Linked DNA regions of Homo sapiens: regions 1, 3, 4 and 5 are each linked to region 2. Evidence: promoter capture Hi-C in 16 types of primary human blood cells and fetal thymus (Javierre and others, 2016). All regions are on one chromosome and are shown on one strand. The core of a region is centred on a gene start or on the middle of the fragment in contact, and the rest is flanking DNA. Distances in the headings are between cores, read along the strand shown. Region 1 holds the start of MTIF3 (mitochondrial translational initiation factor 3). Region 2 holds the start of NUP58 (nucleoporin 58). Region 3 has its middle 4.7 kb from the start of PAN3. Region 4 has its middle 3.0 kb from the start of POLR1D. Region 5 overlaps GTF3A (general transcription factor IIIA).

Region 1 (2,817 bases), core at 1-2,500, 2.2 Mb after region 2:
CAAGCGATTGACATACTGTAGCGGACGCAAGTACAGCGGATCTGCGGCGAGTCCCCTTCGCTCTCCGTAGTGGGCGGGGCTTCACCCCGCGTCCTTTAAAGGAAAGGTGATGGGCGGAGCCACGTTTTTCTACTGTTGGGATTCAGTTCCGCCGACAGAAAATGCGGAGAACGCGGAGGAAGTCCCTGAGGGGAAATTGCTGCTCACCTGGCTCCCGCTGCTCCGCAGGTGCGGTGAAGGCTAATGTCGAATTTCTGCAGCAATCGGAGCAGCCCTTACTCCAGTTACATTAACACCAATCTCGGTCTCCCACTAGGGCTTTATAAATTGCTTTCATAAACGTCTTTTTAATGTAACACTGAATAAAATGTTTTATAAGCGTCTTTTATAAGGATCGTAAGTGAAAGGGCGCTGTCTCCGATTTGCAGGTGAGCAGACAGCTTCGGAGTGAGAACGGCTCCCCGCGGGTCCCCGGTGGCGCGCGGCTCCCGGAGGCAAAACAAAGCTGGGGCCGGGGCGTCGGAGCCTCCGCGTTGTAGTTGGGAGAGGTTCGAACGGGGCCCCAGCTGGCGAAAGGGAAAACGGACCCGGACCCGGACCCGTGGAGCCTGCTCGAAAGCCGGGTGCTGGGGGTCTGGGCCCCGTGTCCCCCCTCTTTTTCTTCTTCAATAAGAAATTCCTCAAGGGCAGACTGCGAGTCCACAGTCGTGAAGCCACCTAATCTGGCTTCATACCTGGAATGTTTGGATTCCTGGTACGAAGAAAAACTAACATTTATTGGCTACTTGTCCACTGGAAGGCGTTGTCTTATTTCTCATTAACTCCTTGAGTCAGCATTACGTCTTTTATTACAGATGACACAACTACTAAAGCTTTAAATAGTTCTTTGGGAGCAAAGACGAAATCTCCATTTCCTTTTTAGCTGCTGGTAGCTCGACGCTCACTGTTAAAATAGGGAGGTAATGAAACAACTCTTGTGTGAGACCGAAAGTCCAGGTGTGCATCTTGGCCATTTCCAAGTTAATCAAGAAGAATTAAGGATTCATTTTATTCTATCAAAATTATTTCTCAATGCCAAGATATTTTGTGTGACGTAGATTCGGGGACAGACTGAGTAGCACAATACCTGGGAAAAGTTAGGTGCTCAGCAATTATAATTGCCCACATTTGTGATTGCTTTTGCCTATGTGCCAGACACTGTTCTACGCACTGAACATATCTCAAGTTATTCAATCTTCAGGACAACCTTATGAGCCAATTATTATTATTACCCATTTTACAGATGAGGGAACTGAAACAAATTTGCCCAAGGTCGCACAACTAGTAGCAGAATCAAGAATAAAAAAGCCAAAAAACCCCAAACCCAGGCAAACTTTAAATGTTCCTTGCATTGCTAGACTGAAGTAGTGAGAGAAACAGTAAACAGTACGAGTCCATGAAAACATTAAAAGGATGTGAAGTATGTACAAGTAACTGAAACATTTAATGCCCAAACTAAAGACTTAAAATTTGCTAAGGTAATAGCACAGGTAGATTCACACCAAGTAATCACTGGTAACTGAAGCTACCGGCCAGCATCCATTTGCAGTCCGTCTTTGAAGGCAGCTGTGTCCAGAGCAGGTGGTTTAGGAAGCTTTCTAGACTTCCATTGTCAGATGTCTCCACGCCTAGAAGATGGTGCTTTAGTGTTCCTGGGAGGAGACATGCAGAGATGGGGTGGCAATTACAGACATGCCCACAGATGGAGAGAAGCCATTTTTTTCATCTTTTCCCTTGAACTCTTCTTTGACCTCCAGCCGAAATGGAGCTTGGCAGCTTTTGTGGGGTTTTTTGTTTTTTTGTTTTGTTTTGTTTTGTTTTGTTTTTGGAGATGGAGTCTCTCTGTGTCGCCCAGGCTGGAGTGCAGTGGCGCGATCTCGGCTCACTGCAACCTCCACCTCGCGGGTTCAAGCGATTCTCCTGCCTCAGCCTCCCGAGTAGCTGGGATTATAGGCGCGTGCCACTGGGTCGGGCTAATTTTTGTATTTTTAGTAGAGACGGGGTTTCACCATATTGGCCAGTCTGATCTCGAACTCCTGACCTCAGGTGATCCACCCCACTCGGCCTCCCAAAGTGGTAGGATTACGGGTGTGAGCCACCACGCCCGGCCACTTGGAAGCTTTTAAAGAGTCATTGAGAGCCTTGAGCTGTGCTTGGTGGGGGCAGACTTTGAAGATCCTTGAATAAAGATGAAGAGGTTTGGGGAAATGCTATTACTATGCCACAGATCTTTAATAAACTACTCCGTTATGTACATAGAAGAGGACTCTGAGACATGTGTAGAGCTTTCCCAATTGTTATCGTTTCTACATATAATTTAACCCCCTCAAAAAATGTAACTCAATAAGACTCAAATCATGGTGACTCTAAAAATGCCTATATTTTCTATTACATAGTAATTTCTACGTTAATTTCCATAGCATGCCCATGAACTTTCTCTTTCAATGAATATATTGGTGATTTGCTCTGATGAAGGAATAATGGAAATATCCCGTCCCTCTCTTTGCCTGTTAGCTTTCCAAGTCCTCCCACTTTTCCCCAACGCCGAGGGGACCTTCCAAAACAGGATTGTATGTGAGATTTACTTGCTTAGCCCAAGGTCATTGAGGTACAACATATCTGATCCACAAAAGAATCAGTCTGTGGGTGATTTCTTTAAAAAGTTATGAACACTGGGCTGCGTCTTTATAATGCCACAATGACTAACAATTCATTTAAAAATCTAATACTAATAAAAATCCTGGTGGTGGTTGTTTTTTTGTTTTGTTTGTTTGTTTT
Region 2 (2,903 bases), core at 82-2,581:
TGGGCGACCCACCAAGGTGACCTCATCTAAATTGAATTACCTCCCAAAGGCTCCATCTCCAAATACCAACATATTGGGGTGGGGTAGGGCTTTAACATATGGATTGGGGGAGGAGGGAAATAGTTCAGTCCACAGCTGGTGGCAATGCCCAAGCTCAACGGAAGATTAAAGTACTGAATTAGGGAGAACTGTGAGATGAGGTTAGAAAGACTAATCATACGGAGGTCATCAAGTGCCAAACTAAAGAGCCACTGGGCTTTTTAGATCATAAATCCGGGGGTTGCTTATGGGATGGATTTTGTTAGAGATCACGAGTAGGAAAACCATTTGGGGGAGTAATGTAACAATCCCTGAGGGAAAAATAAAAACTAACACTATGATGACAACCCTCGAATGCACCACCACCAGGAAGCCTTTCCTGATGCTTCGCCAGAGAGGTTCTCTTTAAACGCGAATTTTTCTTGAGTTATCCTAGAAATGTAAGTTACACCTCACATTTCGCCTTCTTTCGTACATGTTCCTGTGCGTTTCCTAATCCTTCCACTTTGTAGTTCCTCCAGCACCGGTTGTGTCCGAGGGCCCTTCTGGCGGAGCCACACTCGCTCGGCCCAAGGTCCCGCCCTCCAGCATCAGGATGCACGGACAGTATTTGTGGACTTGACCGCATCCCAGGAAATCCAGCGGGCCTGGCCACTTCTGGGCGCCAGGACCACAGCCGGCCACCCCACGGACGCCTGGGACGCTCTTCTGGGCCCCCTTCGGGGCTGGGCGTCGGGCTCGCAACAACTGCGACCAACTGGCTCCGCGAGGCCTGGGGCGCAGGGGTGGGGCTCACGTCGTGGGACGGTTGCATGGATTATTTTCGATTGATTTCCGAACCTTCAGGAAGCAGACACGCTCCCCTTCCTTCTTAGGGATGGGGCGGCAGCCAACGAAAGCCCGAAGCCGCCTCCTTTTCTGAGTGGGGAGCTTAGAGATGCTCAGGAGGGACCTCCCCGATTCTGCGATTCTGAGCATCAATTTTGGCAGGAGGCTAGATAGAAGTAGCAATTGACATTCATCACCCTAAAGTGCGGATTATGTCAGTACAGATGCTACGATAGAAGAACTAAAAAATGACAGAAATGGTTTTACTGTTTTTAAACTCTGGGAGCCTACTCCTTTAAGAGATTAGGCAGTACGCCTATTCTCGCCTGGTCCCAGCGTACCTTGCGCGGCTCGCCGTCCCCCACTCACGTACCAGGGCTCATTGCGTGACGGTTACACTTCCGGCGGGCTACGTGCGCGCGGCGAGCGCCGGGCGTACTTTTGCGTGGTTGCTCCACCCCCTCAGCCTTGCCTTCGCCGCCGTTGGGGCTGGAAGTTCCCGCCAGGTCCGTGCCGGGCGAGAGAGATGCTGCCCGGCCCGCCTCGGCTTTGAGGCGAGAGAAGTGTCCCAGACCCATTTCGCCTTGCTGACGGCGTCGAGCCCTGGCCAGACATGTCCACAGGGTTCTCCTTCGGGTCCGGGACTCTGGGCTCCACCACCGTGGCCGCCGGCGGGACCAGCACAGGCGGCGTTTTCTCCTTCGGAACGGGAGCGTCTAGGTAACCGCACTTTCTCGCCTTCCTGGGCCGGATTCACCCCCACCCCCACCCCCGCAAAGCTCCCTTGGTGTCCCCATCCTGTCTCTTCCCTCTGGCTTCCTTCCCAGTGGGGCTGGAGAGAAGCACTTAATCTAGCCGCCCGGCGTCGTAGGCCTCTCGCCGCGGTACCCGGGCCCAGCGCGGCCTGGTGAAGTGGAGGGCGGGATGGGTTCTGTGCTGTGAGGTTTCCAGAATCCACGTATAGTTCAGGCATTATTTGGACCTAGTGGGGTCTTGACTGCGTGGAAGGGCCTTGGGGTCTACCCCGGAGCTTTAGCGATGTGTCAGTCTTAGGCATAGAATGAACATTGAATGAATGAATGAAATTATAGCATACTGTGGAGTTTTATGATAGATAATTCCGATTTCATTGCAGCATTTGCGGTTTTGGATATGACGGTGTTTTAATAACTTTGTGGTTTTTAACCAGCTTTTCAAGCTTTTGTGCCACATGGGACCTTATCTGTTTTTGTTAAAAAAAACAAAAACACTTTTTTACAGTGTTTATTAGTGGTAATTTTCTGCAGTATGTGCAGATTAGTATATCTGATGCGAGAATGTTGTGTTGTAATAACTCAATTTGTCTTTTACTTAAATTACAAAACGTAGGTAGCATGTTCCTTGTTTTTGTGCAACCCATTAGTTCAGGTGGCGACAAAAACATAACTATCCAGAAAGAAACAAAGTGGTGAGACATTTTAATGAGAGATTTAAGCTTTAGAACTCAATTTTTTTTAAGATAAAGGTGGAGGGGTTCATAAAGTTAAGGAGTGTGCACACTGTCAACAAGATACTTCCTGAAGCTTAAAAGATGTGGCTGTAGATTTAAAAGGCAAATACTTAAGCATGACCTGCAGTTTAAAAAGGGAGGGAGGAGGAACCACGGACTACACAGTCAATTCAGAAATTTGAATTTTCATCCATACCTCCGTTATTCTTACTCTACTCGCTCAACAACAGGTTCTGATAATGTTACTTCTGCCATTTCTGTTTGTCTTTATTTCCAGTTCCACAACCCTGCTTAGGCTATTGTCATTCGTGGAACAAATATTTATTGGACAGATTCCCATGTGCAAGGCTCTGTTTTAGGTATTAAGAGTCTTGCTCTCTTGATCCTTACATTCTTATGAAAATAATTTTGATTCTTGTCAGATTTTTAACCAGCTGTCTTTCTTGTTTTAGATGAAAACTACTCCAATCAACTTCTTCAATCTGTTCTGCCACATTTTAGCCAGAGTAATTGAAAAACAAAATTCCCATTGCTCTCTCTTTAATCA
Region 3 (3,107 bases), core at 541-3,040, 2.8 Mb after region 2:
CCTGGCCTCATCTTACATTTTAAAGGATATTTTCATTAGACATTGAATGCTAGACTGGCAGTTAGTTATTTTCTATAAGTGTACTGAAGATACTAATGATGTGTATTTTTCTTTCTTTTTACCATTCTTAGACTTGTCAAGAGTGTATCTATTTTTATTGTTATTTAAAAATAACGAAAGTTTGGTTTAAGATTTTTAATGTTTTCCATTTTATTAATTTCAGCCTTTGCTTTATGACACATTCCCTTTTCCTCCTTGCTCTTGATTCATTTTTGTCCTTGTGTTAAAGTCTGTTATTATTAATTCTTTTTTAATAATAAAAATAGTTAAGACTGTAGTCTGGCTATTTAAGTGCCTGTAGTCCCAGCTACTTGGGAGGCTGAAGCAGGAGGATCCTTTAAGCCCAGGAGTTTGAGGCCAGCATGGACAACATAGTAAGACCCTGTCTCTTAAATAAATAGAAATATAAATGAAAAATAAGGCCGGTTGCGATGGCTCACACTCGTAATCCCAGCTTTTGGGAGGCTGAGGTGGGAGGATTGCTTGAGCTCAGGAGTTCAAGACCAGCCTGGGTAACACAGTGAGACCCTGTCTCTTCAAAAAATAAAAAATTTGCCAGGACTGGCGGCACATGCCTGTAGTCCCAGCTACTTTGAGGTGGGAGGATCACTTGAGCCTAAGAGGTTGAGGCTGCAGTGAGCCATGATCATGCGACTGCAGTCCAGCCTAGATGACAGACCATGACTCTGTCTCAAAATAAAATAAAATAAAATAAAAAACCTTGTGAATAAATTTTAGCACTTATATTATTGCTCTATAATAGGTCATGTGAAAGGGTTAACAGACAGTAAAAGACAAAGTTTTTTTTTTTTTTTTTCGGGAGCTTCATTTTATTAATAGTATATCTTATTAAGATTCTTGCTTTTTACAGAAAAGTTGTAAAGATTAAGAAAAAAAATTCTGGCCGGGAGCGGTGGCTCATGCCTGTAATCCCAGCACTTTGGGAGGCCAAGGCGGGTGGATCACCTGAGGTCAGGAGTTTGAGACCAGCCTGGCCAACATGGAGAAACCCCGTCTCTACTAAAAATACAAAATTAGCTGGGGGTGGTGGCGCATGCCTGTAATCCCAGCTACTCAGGAGGCTGAGGCAGGAGAATGGCGTGAACCCGGGAGGTGGAGCTTGCAGTGAGCCGAGATTGCGCCACTGCACTCTAGCCTGGGCGACAGAGTGAGACTCCGTCTCAAAAAAAAGAAAAAAAAAATTCTTGCTTTAATACATATCTTTTTCAGCAAGTCTCCTGATTTAAAGTTTTTCATCCAAGTATAAATTAGAAAATCTAAACTGAAATAAACATAGTCTTTGAAATAGTAAAATCAATTATTAATAGAGAATTATCCGATTTAAGATTATAATGGTCATATTTCACATACAAATATTAGTTTCTGGAGTAGGGGGTGCTTAACCAACAGAAGTGGTAATAGTGAGTTTTGCTAAGTTAAAGGTACTTCTATATGGCTGGTGGTAGTTGTATGGGATGATACCAATGATATACTAGATTGTCAGGGCCATTTCCAAGATATAATTAATTTCAAAATCATATTTGCCTTTAATGTATTTCACAAGAATATAATAAATATGAGCATCTTGAAATCCTTTGAAAACTTGTATAGAAAGGTAACAAATTGCTTTTACTGCCATAAACACTAAAAAAACCTATGTAGTATATATCAGTACATAAGTATGATGATAATGATGAAAGACTATGTCTTCTATAAAGGGTCATAGATACATTAAAAAATCTTTTTTTTGAGACGTAGTCTTGCTCTGTCACCCAGGCTGGAGTGCAGTAGCACGATCTTGGCTCACTGCAACCTCTGCCTCCCAGGTTCAAGTGATTCTCGTGCCTCAGCCTCCCGAGTAGCTGGGATTATAGGCACTTGCACCAGGCACTTGCACCACCACGTCTGGCTAACTTTTGTATTTTTAGTAGAGATGGGGTTTCACCATGTTGGCCTGGCTGTTCTGGAACCCTGGCCTCAAGTGATTCGCCTACCTTGGACTCCCAAAATGCTGGGATTACAGGCGTGGGTCACTGCGCCTGGCCAAAAAATCTGTCATGTATCAGTTATTTATCACTGCCACAAATAGGAAGGTTTTTGCTTCTAGTGCACCCAAAATTTGTCAACAAGATTAAATTAAGCAGTTGCTAGTAACTTTGTATAAAATTATAGAGCTTAGTGCATAAGGAACATACTTTACAAATATGTAAGAAATGTATTTATACATATGCAGCAAATTTCATTTCTAGGACTCAAAAACAGTCAACTCTCATTTATCCACATGCAGTTTCCACTCTATCTTAAGGGATAATTTTTATTTTTTTTTGAGACAGGGTCACCTTTTTTTCACCAGGTGACACCAGGGTTGCTGTCACCTAGGCTGTCACTGCAGCCTCGACCTCCTGGCCCAAGCAATCCTCCCACCTAAGCCTCCCAAGTAGCTGTGACCACAGAATGCCACCATGCCCAGCTAAATTTTTTTGTAGAGACAGTGTTTCCCTATGTTGCCTAGGCTGGTCTCAGAACTTCTGAGCCAAGTGATTCTCCTGCCTTGACCTCCTAAAGTGTTAGGATTATAAGTGTGAGCCACATGCTTGTCCTTAAGGGAGAATTTTTAAGACTCAGGCTGCTATCACTAATATAATAATTAACCATTCAGAAAATGTGACGTTTTCCTCTCAATCTTTATTATTATTAATTTTGAGATGAAGTCTCGCTCTGTTGCCCAGGCTGGAATGCAATGGCGCAATCTCGGCTCACTGTAACCTCCGCCTCCCAGGTTCAAGCAATTCTCCTGCCTCAGCCTCCCGAGAAGCTGGGATTACAGGTGCCTGCCACCATGCCTAGCTAATTTTCTGTATTTTTGGTAGAGACGGGGTTTCACCACGTTGGTCAGGCTGGTCTCAAACTCCTTACCTCAAGTGATCCACCCACTTCCGCCTCCCAAAGTGCTAGGATTACAGGTGTGAGCCAATGCGCTTGGCCTCAATTATTAGCATTTAATAGAAATTAACATTACCCTTTAGCAATGTAGTCTCTGTTGCTGG
Region 4 (2,793 bases), core at 81-2,580, 2.3 Mb after region 2:
CTAATTAAGCCAGCATTGAAAATGAGGAAACTGAGAATATCAGAGGCCTAGACAAGAACTGTGATCATGGGAATTAAAAGAAGTATATATCCATGTCTGTAGTTGGAGTGGTGGGGGTAAGGGAAGAGACAAAAACCATGACCCCAGTTAGATTGTTGTTTAAAAACAGAAGGAAAGAAGATTGGGGTGGGGACTTGGCTTCTTGCTAAACTTTTTGGCTTTTAAAGAATTGCATCATTTGCTGTGATTGGTAGACTTGGCAAGGGTGGGAATAATTTGGAAGAAGTGTGAGAATTCTGGTTTTACATGAGAGTTTTAGGGAGTAAGGCTCCATCTTTGAGGCATTTACAGGAAAGATACCAGTTTACTGCTTGAATTTTGGGATATACTTAGTCATGATCTAAGTAAGGTAAGATGTTTTGATTATATTACAGAAGGAGAAAATTGGGATGACTAGAAAACATTTTCAGTCCTTAAGTAGGTATAGCCTAGGGTAATGTAGAAGAAGCCCTATTTGAGAGAAGGTAAAGCCAAGGAGAAGGAAAATTCCATATAGGGGAAATGACTGTTTTGGAAAACACATATCCCACCCGCCAGTGCTCTGTGCTTTGGGCCCTTGTTTATCTATCCCCTCTTCCTGGGCCAGTCTTACTCCTGCCGTACTCTTAAGTCAAAGCTTATGTGTCAGGCCTCTCAGCCTAGTTTGGGTACTTCTTTGTGCTTTCATTACACCCTGTGTTTCCTGGCCTTGGCATTTACTATGCTATTGGTAGTGCTTATCTTGTTTACCCACTAAACCAACTTGGAGGTCAACATGATTCTGGTACCTGGAACACCTGACAGGTAGTGGACACTTAGTAAATACTCTATGAATTCATGTAAGTAGTTATGGCATGCAGCTTTTCAGTCACTCAAACCTGACCTCTTACACTAGCGTGCCATAGAGCCTACATTTCCTACACTCAGCCAAATTCTTTAAAGAGATATCCATATTTTTGAGCACTAGTATGTTCCAGGCCTTGGGGATAGATATATAGCTATAGTGGATGAGACAGAGTAAGTCCTGTTCTCATAAAGCATGTGTTATAAGAGCCCCTTAAAAAAAAATTGTGAGGCTCGGCATGGTGGCTCACACCTGGGAAGCCAAGGTGGGAGGATCACTTGAGCCCAGGAGTTTGAGACAAGCCTGGGCAACATGGGGAGTCCCTGTCTCTACAAAAAAATAAAAAAGGTAGCCAGGCATGGTGACACATGCCTGTAGTCCCAGCTGCTTGGGAAGCTGAGGCGAGAGGATATCTTGAACCTAGGAGGTTGAGGCTGCAATGAGCCATGATCACACCATTGCACTCCAGCCTGGGTGACAGAGGGAGACCTTGTCTCAAAAAAATATATAAAATTAAAAACTTGTAATTCTGTAAAAGCAGCAAATGTAGGGTCAAGATAGAAAACATAAGAAAGGAATCTACTTTAGGCACGGAAGTTAGGAAAGGTGTTCTAGAGATTACAGGAAGGGAGAGAGCTGGCTGTGCAAAGAGGAGAGAAAATGCATTCTGGGGGTATAGCATGTGCAAAGGTCCTAAAGCAGAAAACTGGTGGCATGAGGAACTGAAGATATTGAACAAAGATTTGCATGTTTTTGTAGCACAGTAGACAAGGAGAAGGGCCTGTCCTCTGGAGTCCATGGGAGGAAGAGTTGGGGTAGTAGGGATTTTGGATTTTAGGTTCAGTGGGAATGACGTCTTCTTTACTTTGATTACAGAGTGGGGGGAGATGAATTATAGGGAGGCTGGAGTAGAAGCAGAGAGAGACACTATAAAGAGTTGAAGTGGCCTGGAAGGGTAGAAGCTAGTGATGGAGAAGAGAAGGTAGGTTTGAGGTATATTTTAGAATTGAATTGGCACAGAATTGGTACACTTCAGGAACTGTGGAAGATGAAGAATCAAAGATGACTACTGCCTAGCTTTGGGGCCAATTACTGAAATTGGGAAGCTTAAAATGGAAAATAGATTGGGAGGTGGAAAAGATGATAGGAGTCAAAAGTTTCATTTGTGAACATTGTAAGCAGTGGCTATGTGAGTTGGAGATCGTGGAAGAGATCTAAGCTGGAGACAAATTTTATGAGTCCTTGCCATAAAGATGACATAAATTGATTAAAAAAAAAAAAATAGAGGGTGACAAAGAAGTGGGCCCAGAACAAAGCCCTAGGCAACTTCAGTATTTAAAGTTTGGGTCAAAGAAGAGTTAAAGATAAGAGTATTTGTAAGTTTGGGTCAATGTAATGGTAGGAAAGTGCAAAAATAGGGTGTGGAAGCCAAGGGTTTCAAATAGGGAATAGAAAAATGTCACCTGGAGTTAACGTGGAGGTCACTAGGCAGTAACAGCATTAGTTTACTGCCTAAGAAGAGTAAACATTACCACTCATTATACAGAGGAATGGCTTAGTTTGGTTTTCCAATAAAAGAATCACATGAAGACATTGGAAGAGGTGAGTTTAGGCGGGAGCAGGGATGTCATAGGGCAAGGATACAGCATATTCTCTTATGGTGACAGTAAGAAATTCTGGAAAGTCAATGTTTGTTTAAGGGCATTAGCCTTTGAAGATAAAAGGAAGCTCAAAAAGGATGTGGAAAAGGATTAAAAACTTTTTTCCTCTCCCAAAACTTTGCCTGTGGGGATAGTAAACAGAATTACTTACCTGGAGTTTAATTCCTCTAAACCAAGGCCTGTCAGGAGATGAAAACAAAGTTTAATTAGTGGACATCAAGGTACAGACTGATGATAGTAGATGAAGTA
Region 5 (3,088 bases), core at 1-2,500, 2.1 Mb after region 2:
CCTGGGCTTGGAGGCGCCGGCGCCCTGGATCCGCCGGCCGTGGTCGCCGAGTCGGTGTCGTCCTTGACCATCGCCGACGCGTTCATTGCAGCCGGCGAGAGCTCAGCTCCGACCCCGCCGCGCCCCGCGCTTCCCAGGAGGTTCATCTGCTCCTTCCCTGACTGCAGCGCCAATTACAGCAAAGCCTGGAAGCTTGACGCGCACCTGTGCAAGCACACGGGGGAGGTGAGGGGGGCGAGGCTGCCAACCCTGGGCCTAGGGATGGCGCGTGGCCCCGGGGTAGCCACTGCAGTCGTGGCCAGGGCCGCAGGCCCCGCTGTGCAGCGCGTTCAGCTTTGACATCCAGGACTTGGGGAAGGAGCTGAGGAAGTAGACAGGAAGTTGTAGGACCTTCGTTCTGCGACCTTGATATCCATGGCAGGGGCTCGGGATTTACTAAGCAGTCATTGATCGTGAGTCTCGGCCAGCCAAGTGCCTCCCGTAATCTGCAAATAAGTGTGAGGTTTGAGGGGGCCCACCGCTACTAGACACCTGCCAAACACTGGCCCCTGGAGCTGGTACAGAAGATGGGTTACATGTACCAGGGGTCGTGAAAGCAGCATGTGCTCATTTCTTCGTAACTCCACACTGGAGAGAGCAGTGAGCAAAACAGGCAAACCCAAGGTTTCTGCTGCCATGGACCTTTGTTCCTGGGTCGAGCCGACCACAGGATAGGTGGGAATGACATGCAGTGTTGTGGTCAGGAAAGGCCTCTCTGTGTGAGCCGTGTAAGAAGGAAGGATCTAGCCATGCAGACATTTGTGCTAGGTAGAGAGAACACAAAGGGAGCCTGTGACCCTTGGGGTGGGAGGCAGGTGGGTGTGTTTGGGTGCGGAGATCACCATATGAGGTCTGAGAAGTAGGCCCATTAGGAGTTTGGATTTTATTTTGAGGGCAGGAGAATGTCAGATACCATGATATGACGTGGCAGCCCATGTCACACACAAGTGAGGAAAACGAGGGTCATGGAGGTCAAGGAATCTGCCCAGCTTCCCAGTTTTTGGCAGAGCTAGGCTTCACACTGCCTCAGCTTAAAGCCCTTAATTTCTTAAACCACTGGGCTGCAGTCCATACCTTTGCCCCTTGCACCTCCTCTAATTTATGGGCCACCTTCTCCAGGTGTCCTCCGGGGCCTCATTCCTTAACCTCTCCAGCACTGGAAGGCCGACCGCTTCTTCCTTGAGACCTTCTCTGGTTCTTTTCCTCTTCCTCGTCTGCCCTTTTCGTTGGATCCTCTTCTGCCCTCTGCATGTTCCACCCCGCCCAGCTCCCTCTTGCGGTCTTACATAGCCACCGGCATGACTCATAACATCCTTTATGCTTTGCCCCTCTGCCCTTCCTCTTGCCCGTTCTAGCCTCTAAATTCTGGGCTCTGTATTACCAGTAGATCCACGTAAGAGCTTGCCTTTCCTTTTAGACCGGTGTGCTGTATTTTGGATACTGGCGCTACCAGTTTCCTTAATACAGGTTGAAAAACTTGGAGTCATCTTTGTTGTCCCAGATCTCTCATGCAGATTAATTTGACAAATGTTTATTGAGCCTACTCCACGCCTGCCGCTGTGCAAGGTTCTGTGGCTCCGCCCCTGGTGGTATGTAGCTCACTGTGTTCCTGTTTGCTTGTTTTGCTCCTAGTACTCTCATGGAGGCCTCGGTGCCTCCCTCCTGGACGCCTTGGTAGTATGCTTTTCATAGTTTGATGCACCAAACTGGTTATTTGGTTATTTGGGGTGTGTGTTTGGCTTTTACTATAGGTTCAAAATGAGTCACCCCCTCCCAACTCCTGGGTTACAAAAGGTGGTTGCATTTAGGGTGTTGAGCTGTTTTCTTTGCTTCGCCCTGGCACCTGTGAGCTTTTTCAGGTGTGACACACTTTCCTATAGCTGTGCTTGGCATTATCCTAGCACAGACCCTGGGCTTGTCTGGGATGAGACAGGCCTCCCTCGTTCCTCTGCCCTAGGCTTGCTTTTTTACATGTTAAATCATGCGGTGGTGGGGATCCATGCAGACAAGCCATGCTAACAGCCAGGGCGTCTTTAAGAGGGGGTTGCTGTGAAAGCCTGCTGCCGGGTTGGGAGCAGGTTAAAAATGCTATGCCTGCTTATTTTAAATGCTGTTCATGGAACAAAAATCTGTGTAGTGACTTTGTGAGAAGTTGTGATGTTTATGTTGTGTAACTTTGTGCAGGAACACTGCGTCTTGCAGTGGGTGCACAGCTCTGAGTAGAAACCACCTCTTCATAGGAAGCCTGTGGCCTTAACACTAGGCAGTTTAAGCTTTTAAATAATACCAGAGTTACTAACTAGTGCAGAAGTGACATGCTTTTTCTTTTTTCCTGCTAGAGACCATTTGTTTGTGACTATGAAGGGTGTGGCAAGGCCTTCATCAGGGACTACCATCTGAGCCGCCACATTCTGACTCACACAGGAGAAAAGCCGTTTGTGTAAGTAGAGACCTGTTTTTAGGCTTTTGAAGTGGGTTGTGTTGGGCATATAGACCCAGTAAGAAGATTGATGTTAACTCACGAGATCAGGAATGTGAAGCCTGGCAGGGCTCGGTGGCTCATGCCTGTAATCCCAGCACTTTGGGAGGCGGAGATGGGCAGATCACTTGAACCCAGGAGTTTGAGACAAACCTGGGCAACATGGTGAAACCCCGTATGTACAAAAATACAAAAATTAGTCAGGGATGGTGGTTTGTGCCTGTAATCCTAGCTACCCAGGAGGCTGAGCTAACATAAAATGCTCATGGGTGGGGACAAGCTAAAGTATATCAACACAATGGGATACCCTACAGCCAGGAAAATGAATGCAGATGCTCTCTGCAAAGCCATGAGAAAATCACCAGGGCACTTTAATTGAAAAACCAAGGTGCAGAAGAGTCCTCTTTAGGCTACTTTTATGTGTGTAAAAAAGCTAGGGGGTAGGGGGAGGGGTGAGTAGTGGGTGTTGGGTAGGCAGGAAGCAACTATATTTGTATTTGTTCCTATTTGTAAAGAAGTCTTAAAAGTTACATAACAAAACTAAAAATGTCATCTGTTTTGGGAGCAGTG

What was found. Contacts are between HindIII fragments. The CHiCAGO score rates a contact against its expected background, and 5 or more counts as called.
Region 1: a fragment that was not itself captured here is called in contact with the fragment with the promoter of NUP58 in region 2 in 1 of 17 cell types (naive CD4 T cells); the score reaches 7.5 in naive CD4 T cells.
Region 3: a contact is called between a fragment that was not itself captured here and the fragment with the promoter of NUP58 in region 2, in 3 of 17 cell types (total CD4 T cells, neutrophils and naive CD8 T cells). The highest score is 7.5, in total CD4 T cells.
Region 4: a contact is called between a fragment that was not itself captured here and the fragment with the promoter of NUP58 in region 2, in 1 of 17 cell types (non-activated CD4 T cells). The highest score is 7.1, in non-activated CD4 T cells.
Region 5: a fragment that was not itself captured here is called in contact with the fragment with the promoter of NUP58 in region 2 in 2 of 17 cell types (non-activated CD4 T cells and fetal thymus); the score reaches 6.4 in non-activated CD4 T cells.

What each region holds. Positions count from the first base shown.
Region 1 is chr13:27,450,520-27,453,336 of GRCh38, forward strand. It overlaps MTIF3 (mitochondrial translational initiation factor 3), which reads right to left and starts at 45. Exons shown (of 5, transcript NM_152912.5): 1 at 1-45. RefSeq lists enhancers at 1-196, 40-399, 420-479. The HindIII fragment of the contact is 761 bases long and covers 871-1,631 here.
Region 2 is chr13:25,300,294-25,303,196 of GRCh38, forward strand. It overlaps NUP58 (nucleoporin 58), which reads left to right and starts at 1,332. Exons shown (of 16, transcript NM_014089.4): 1 at 1,332-1,587. The coding sequence starts at 1,481. RefSeq lists enhancers at 988-1,227, 1,388-1,467, 1,578-1,627. The HindIII fragment of the contact is 2,784 bases long and covers 1-2,063 here.
Region 3 is chr13:28,132,264-28,135,370 of GRCh38, forward strand. No RefSeq gene overlaps it. Among named protein-coding and RNA genes, the nearest start is that of PAN3, 4.7 kb to the right of the region's middle. The HindIII fragment of the contact is 6,379 bases long and covers 1-3,107 here.
Region 4 is chr13:27,623,508-27,626,300 of GRCh38, forward strand. It overlaps a transcript of POLR1D not described here. Among named protein-coding and RNA genes, the nearest start is that of POLR1D, 3.0 kb to the left of the region's middle. The HindIII fragment of the contact is 1,313 bases long and covers 675-1,987 here.
Region 5 is chr13:27,424,714-27,427,801 of GRCh38, forward strand. It overlaps GTF3A (general transcription factor IIIA), which reads left to right. Exons shown (of 9, transcript NM_002097.3): 1 at 1-225; 2 at 2,379-2,479. The coding sequence starts at 25. Among named protein-coding and RNA genes, the nearest start is that of GTF3A, 1.6 kb to the left of the region's middle. RefSeq lists silencers at 11-70, 171-250 and enhancers at 341-410, 1,361-1,580. The HindIII fragment of the contact is 2,120 bases long and covers 191-2,310 here.